Regions from separate parts of the Homo sapiens genome. Here region 1 is linked to region 2. The links are contacts of gene promoters, found by promoter capture Hi-C in blood cells and fetal thymus (Javierre and others, 2016). All regions are on one chromosome and are shown on one strand. Each heading gives the region's core, a stretch centred on a gene start or on the middle of the fragment in contact. The rest is flanking DNA. Distances are from core to core; before and after follow the strand shown. Region 1 overlaps NEB (nebulin). Region 2 holds the start of MMADHC (metabolism of cobalamin associated D).

Region 1 (3,560 bases), core at 1,032-3,531, 2.1 Mb after region 2:
CATAGTATTTTGCTCAGTTCTGAGAGTCACATTTTACTAGTGATGTCATGTGAGGAATGCCCCGCAGCTTGGGATATTGGATTTGAAGGTGAACCTGGGGTGAAGGTGGCAGGGGAGGCACCCTGGTGCTGCTCTCCATCTCTGGGGGTTGGCACAGATTTGTTCTGTGCAGCTTCAGAGGACTATGTGAGTTTACAGAGAGAAATGTTGTGACTCAATACATCAGAAGCTTTCTCATAAATTTTCCAGAACGAATGGACTGATTTATGAGATCAGCTCCTTGTCACTGGGAACCCTTAAGCAAAGGCAGGTCAAAAACCTATTTGTGGGGAGGGGTACCTTTGCACTAGGGTGGAGGCTTGACTCTCTGCCTAAGCCTCTATGATTCTGGAATGATGGCACGTGGCCCTGTGCACACTGAAAGTGAAAGGAAATGGGCTTGCTAATATTTACACTGACAGATATTTCTCTCTCTCTGTGTGTGTGTGTGTGTGTGTGTGTGTGTGTGGGTTACCTGGTAGTACTGTGGATTTTAGTTCTTGCCTTTAATCTTATATACTAAAAATCTTAAATTTGGATCCTAAACCACACTTAGGAACAATATATGGAAAATATATTTACTACAGTTATGCTTTAGCATAAAGGGGAGATACATGTATAGGTCAATTGCTAATATCCTAACTTCAAAAAAATAATAAAAGAAAATGGTCTACATAATCTCATGGTTACAGCTTAAATAATTAGTTCATGTCATTTGTATTTCCTAAATGATAATTCATATTGCATAAAGTTTGACATTTATGATGGTGATTGAGAAATGCAAGAGTTGTTATTCACATGAAACATGAAAAAGATTCTTTCTAAAGCTGTCATTTGGTATCATGTCATCATAGAGTAGATCAACTGAAATAAGCAGCAGTGTGCAAATGTCAAAGAATCTGCTCTCACCTCACTGTAGTTGATTTTGTTCATTCTTGCCAACATAATTTCTGGTGTGTCTGGCATTATGTGGATCTGAGTCTTGTCTTTGTCCCAGGCTTCTGTGTATAAACGCTATCAAAAAAAATACACAAATTCATCAGGAAAAAAGTTCTGTGTATAGTTAATAGGAATTTTAGGGCCACAAAAACTTTATAAAAAAAAAGAAAAGGTTATGTGTTTTATACACATTATGTGTTTTATGCACATCTTCGGGTAATAAGTTCATAAAGGAATGTGTATTTATAAATGCCTTCTAATAATCTGAAATGTATGTTAACAAAAGGAAAATGAGAATAAGCATATTTTATGCAGACTATTTTTTGATAAAATATGCTACTTTATCAAAATCATGAAACAATGACTAAATATCAAAATATACATGATATATATCAGTTATTAATAGATAGATGAGAAGCCAATAGATACATAGACAGATAGATAGATGCCTTTTATTACTCAATGTTCTTTCTTTCCTCATTAATGTTTCTTTTTTGTTGATTCAGCTTTAGGAGCCCCACTTCGATTCTTAATTTTGAAGTCTCACCTTGTTCATAGTGATGGCATTATTTTTGGCCAACACTTGTTCCAGAGAGTCAGTCACACTGGTAAATTTGAATCTGTCTGGAGGCTGGCGATAGATTTTATCACTCAAAATTTCAGTTGCCCTTTTGCATTTTTCCACATCCAAAGAGCCAATGGACACCCAGCCAATGCCTCTCATCCACTGGAGATCAGACTTGTACATATTCTGTTGACACAAATAGCCAATAAATATTTATCTCTGTATCAGCAATGCATTTTCATCTGAAGGATAAGAGATCAAGTAAAAGCACTCTCAAAATTTAGTTTGGTGGACGGGCCAGGTATCACACAATATTCCTCTTTGGTCTGAAGGGTTAAAGGATTAAAATTCCTGTCGATAAAGGCAATGCTATTTGCCTCCTCCAGGGGCTGGTGAGCTTGTGCCATATATTGCCATTTTCTCCAAGGGGTGTTAAATAATTTCCCACCTCTGCACGTTATTATGACTCTCAGTACTCACATCGCTCTGGAGGTCATAGGCCTGCCGAGCATGGATGACGTCGCTCTGGTCGGGCAGGCATGTCCACTGGTGCAGGTAGTTCTTGTAGTCCACATCGCTGACTAAGGTCTGGCACTTCTTGGCCAGCACCACCCCCAGCATGTCCACTGGGCTGCTGAACTTGGTCTTCCACTTCTCAAAGTCCTTCTTGTACTCCCTGTCACTCTGGATCTTGGCCACGTGCATGGACCACATCATCTTGGGGTCATCACGTATAGCTCGGGCACCAATGTGGTGGCCGAGCTGCTTACGATAGCCTTCTTTGTACTTGAACTAAAAGAAGAAAAAGACAGATAGTCATCTGTTTTAACTTTTAGTAAAAAGCAATCACTAAGCCTAACTTGCTCTATTTATTAAAAAAAAAATTTTCCCTGAATATGTAAATTATATGATAGATGTAGAAACAATTTAGAAAATAAATATAGCACATATCATCACATATGAAATATATATCTTATATAAAATATATACCATATAGATAGGCATTACTTTAATACATTCTTTAATGTGAAAGTCATTCTGTTAGAATTTAGAATTTGTTTTTAAAATATTTAATTTTTAGATGTATAAATTTCAGGAGATTATGCTGCAATGACAATGACAATAAAAATGAAATTCTCCTGCATGGGTTTTATATGCTCAATGATCCAAAATTTCATTGAGTATCTACTATGTGTCAGGCACAATTCTAGATAAGTACCGCAGATTCAATAAAAATTATCTTTGCCTGCAAAGAATGTCTGTATATTTATACACACAGAAAAAAAAGAAAAATTAAGATGTAATTCTGCCACTAAAATAATTTGTTATGATTCGTGTGTGAGAATATAATTAGAAGTCATATTGTATATGGGTTTGTGCCTGCTCTTTTCAGTTATTATATAAGCATTTCTATGTGTCATTAAATAGTCTTTGCACACATGACTGTTTTTTTTGTTTTGTTTTGTTTTGTATTTTAGAAAGCATCTCTCTCTGTTGCCCAGGTTGGAGTGCAGTGGTACAATCATGTCTCACTGCAACCTCCAACTCTTGGGCTGAAGTGATCCTCCCACCTCAGCTTCTGAGTAGCTAGCACTACAGGCATGCGCCATCACACCTGGCTAATTTTTAAGTTTTTTGTAGAGATAGTGCCTTGCTATGTTGACCAGGCTGGTCTCAAACTCCTGCCCTTAAGTGATCCTCCCGCCTTGACCTCCCAAAGCACTGGGATTACAGGTGTGAGCCATGGTGCCTGACCTATACACATGATTTTTAATGACAGGTAGGTATTTCATTATATGGTATTTAACCCTTCTGTGATTGTCATTTATTCTTAAATTATGATTACTTCCCATATTTTGGAAATAAAGAAAAAAATCTAGAGTTTTTTTTATTCATAGACAAAAGAAATGGAAAGATAAAAATTTTTAGAAATGTGAGCAAATCCTTTATTTATTATACTTTAAGTTCTAGGGTACATGTGCACAACGTGCAGGTTTGTTACATATGTATATATGTG
Region 2 (4,109 bases), core at 1,422-3,921:
GAAGTGGAATATTTTCTGACAACTTGACAGATTTTATGACTGGTTCAGCTGGTGAACATAATTAAAAATAATAGCCAAAAAGCAAGTCAAAATTACAGCAGAGAGTTCATTCTAGTTTGAGGAAAAGCATTTATTTTATATATGATTAAATTCAAACTTCTAGACTTGGGAAGATGACATGCTATTATGTTTTAACTGTAAAATCCTTATTAGTATATAAAGAGAAAGTGCCTTTTGTGCACTGCCTTAGGACTAAGTTCTGCTTTTGATCATGTGAGGAAAAAATATGGTCTGTACAAAAACTAAAAACTGGTAGTTTATGTAGTGCATCCACATCTATCCAGACATTTTTGTGCATCCCACAGTGTTGCAAGATATTTGAATTAAATACAAACATTGAGAAATCGCAATATTTACACAAAAGGTCCAGAAATTTGGCTCTTCTTGAAAACTCAGAAGATCTGGCAGTATTGGATTCACATAACCAAATGGCATTAGTTAGCAACAAATCACTGTAGCTAAGGAAAGGTTGCTCCCCTTTGTTCAGAAAGGCTTTGTCACAGTCCCCATGAAGGCTTCTTAATGTACCTGTCTAGACTCTGAAACATGAACATTCTTGCCCCTTGTTATGAAACACTATCTGCATATTTCATTAGTAACATCCATCCACAATTTACAATCCATATAAATTAACACAAAAATTGTTATCGTACATTTGGATACTGAAACTTAAATTTATTTTAATATGAACTTCTTTCTAACAAAAGACTTATAAAAGGATCTTCCCTACTGAACTATTATAATTTATTCATTTAAACCAAAATAAAACCAGGTCAAATAATAGCATTCTATTCTACTTCAATTAATTTCTCTCCTTTGAAAGTACCACATACTTCTTTTACAGCATTCTCTTTCTGTGCAGGTTATGGGCAGGCAAAAATTCACCATAGAACTTGGCCAAGACTAGTAATCTATTCTTATGACTTGTCTCTATAGTCACACTTTAGACTTAATATACCATGTTCAATTACAGAAATAGCATCCTGGCTAAATGCTGCCATATAAATCTTCCTAGCACACAGCTCTAAGTGAATAATCACAATTTAAAGAATGAAGTCTAAATTACTGAGTTCGGCATTCAAGGCTCTCATTTACTTGGTACCAACCTCACAATTCAACCTTATCTCCCACTTATCTCTTTCATGCAGCTTACATTCAGGTTGGCAGGCAGCAGTCACTTTTCAGTTTTTCAAAGGGGTAGGCGGGTTGGGGAGTTCTTTGAATATACCTTCCTGTCCTTCCCGCTCATATTTTAGACTATACAAATCCCACCTATCTTTCAAACCTCAAGTTAAATGTTTCCCTCATGAAGTGATCCCAAACTCCTCTCCACAAAGACTTGAATCTGCATTGCACCTTCGTGTAGGTTCTAAAAAAAATTATTACTTTATACTTTAATTGTAGCTGTTTTTATATATGTCTTATGACCGCTACATATGAATTCTATAGATAGGATGTGTCTAATCACTGCAAAGTTACAGTCAATAAATATCTCTGGTGTGTGAGAGTATCTCCTATTCTTATTTTGTAGGATTTAGAAGGTCACTTCCAATATGGAAACTGTTTTAAAAAAAAGAAAAAAAGATTAAAAAAACCCTTCAGTTTAGCTAACCCAAAAGCTAAAAAAGGGCCTAAACATAGATTCTAATATTTACTGAAACGCTGTATTTAAAAAATACCGAAAGGGTGCTTGAATTTCCACATCTGTACAAATGAAATTGTATAAATAAGTGTATTTGCAGTGCAAAGAATGCTACCATCTTCAAAGCATAACATAATTTCACACCACTTGCTTCCCTTGACATTTTTGATACATTATATCTAACACTATACCACCCAATGCCATCATAATTAAACCCGTTCTTTCATTCCTAACATTCCCAAACGAGTTTACTATGCTGATTCTTAAGAGATAATTTACTCACATTGGCCATCTCCGCTGGAGAAGATAGTTCGCAAAATAGCTTTCCTTTGGTAAAGTTATTTCTGGGAAAGAACACAACAAAACAGACGAGTGATCGATTAAACTCTAACAACAGACAACTGAGGTAACGTCCACTCTTCGAAGGTGTGTCGTCCACCACGTCAGGACCAAAGTCCAAGCTCTCCCCGTACCCTAAGGAGGCCAGAACTCGCCCCCATGCCAGGCACAGATCCCCCAGCCCGGAGCCGGCAGTGCAGCTCAGAGCCCTTCCGGTTTACAGCCGCGGAAAAACAACTCGGACCAGATCCGGGAGGGGAATGGGGGCTGGGTGGCCAAAATTCAGTCCAGAGGATCGAAGCGGCTGCTTTAACAGAAGTTGGGGCTGCGTAACAACAGCTCCAAGCAAAGCTTCAGGCTGATCGGAAAGATGAGGAAGCAGAAAAGAGACTAAAGACAGACGGACAGGATGGCTGGGGACAACGACAGGGACCCAGTGAAAATACGGGCAATACCGAGGGCTGTAACCCTAACACGGGCAAATTTGGAGGGGCTAACATGGGCGGAAACCATCCGTACCAGTCACCACCACTGTCTCCAGCTGTCCCAGAACCGGACTCTTCCTGCCATCAAAATGGCGGCGGCGACGGCAGCGGTGGTAGCACCTACGCTGGCGGTGAGCAGGCAAAGGAAGTTGCTTCCGAGCGCGTCGAAACGATGATGCGCACGCGCAAAGTAGGCCTACGTGGAGCCGACCTGCCATTGGGTAAACGCAAGGGAGGAGAAAAGGTGGGGCAGGGGTGATTTGGGTGGATGGATAGGAGGGCTTCCGACCTGCGTTAGGCGGGTCAGTTAATCTTCAGTAACTCCTTGATGCGTTTGATAGTCCTCCCAACTTAAGCCTTCCTTACTGCCTCCAGGAGATACAGTCTTCTGTTCTTTTTGTCATAGTTGTTTATTTTTCATGAATCGCTGTTTTTGAGCATAGGGCACTTACCTCTTTCTGTGTCCCCAGCCCTACCACAGTGCCAGGCTCTCAATATGCTCGATAAATATTAGGCGATTGATTTGTAAATCGTGTATCATTTTCATGTATCTAATACTTTTTTAAAAATTGATTAAAGCCCATAAGCCCATATTTTATTCCAGATGTCCTTAGTTTTCGACCTGGTATTCTTTTCCATTCCAGGATCCTGTCCGGAGTACATCACCATGTCTTCCAGGCTCCTCTGGACCGTGACCGTTTCTCAAACTTTCCTTGTTTTTGATAACCTTAATAGTTTTGAAGCGACTTATTGGTCATTTGGTCAAATGTCCTTCAATTGGGTTTTGCCTGTATTTTTCTCATGCATTAACTGAGGTTATGGGTTTTTCTTGAGTTAAGAGGTAAGGTAAAGTGATCTTCTCATCACATCACATCAAGGGTATATACTATCAACATGACTTATTACTGTTGATGCTAACCTTTATCACCATTATTACAGTGTCATACAGAAAAGTTTTATAGTTCTACAAAGATCCCCTTTGTTTCATCTAGTAAGCCCTTCCACCTCCCTATGTAGGGTTTGTCAGGTTTCTCCACTGTGAAGTTACTGTTTTTCTTTTCCTCTCCATACTATACTATTTGGAAGGACATCTCTCTGTGCAGCCCAAACTATAGGAATGGGAAATTGTTATACTCCACCTTTATGAGGACAGAATATCTTCATGAATTATTTGGAATTCTTCTGCATGGGAGATTTGTCTGTACTGCATTTATTTATGTATTCAATCATTTATGTCAGTATGGACTCATGGATATTTATTTTACATTTTGGGTTATAATCCAATACTACTTTATTTTGTTGTTCATATTGGTTCCAGCTTTGGCTATTGAGATTTCCTTTAGTTGGCATTTGTGTCTTTTTGACAAACCCTCCTCGTTTTATGTTTATTGATTTTTTTTCTTGAGCATTTTCTTAATTTCTATAAGTTGCTCCAGGCTCATCTTGTATATTCCCTGCCCCAATCCTAGAATCAGCTGCTTCCCCAAAAAGCCAAGGGTACTTTTAATGGAAAATGATATTAGAAATCAAGATTTGGACATTTGGGATGTTGTTGCTTCTAGACACTCTCAGCTGACAGAGCA

What was found. Contacts are between HindIII fragments. The CHiCAGO score rates a contact against its expected background, and 5 or more counts as called.
Region 1: a fragment that was not itself captured here is called in contact with the fragment with the promoter of MMADHC in region 2 in 2 of 17 cell types (total CD4 T cells and non-activated CD4 T cells); the score reaches 5.6 in total CD4 T cells.

Annotation. Positions count from the first base shown.
Region 1 is chr2:151,638,332-151,641,891 of GRCh38, forward strand. NEB (nebulin) reads right to left here. Exons shown (of 182, transcript NM_001164508.2): 61 at 2,024-2,335; 62 at 1,526-1,729; 63 at 949-1,053. Among named protein-coding and RNA genes, the nearest start is that of NEB, 94 kb to the right of the region's middle. The HindIII fragment of the contact is 4,109 bases long and covers 228-3,560 here.
Region 2 is chr2:149,585,104-149,589,212 of GRCh38, forward strand. It overlaps MMADHC (metabolism of cobalamin associated D), which reads right to left and starts at 2,672. Exons shown (of 8, transcript NM_015702.3): 1 at 2,561-2,672; 2 at 1,986-2,046. The coding sequence starts at 1,994. It overlaps MMADHC-DT (MMADHC divergent transcript), which reads left to right and starts at 2,255. Exons shown (of 3, transcript NR_110240.1): 1 at 2,255-2,747. RefSeq lists enhancers at 1,883-3,082, 2,399-2,718. The HindIII fragment of the contact is 5,011 bases long and covers 2,391-4,109 here.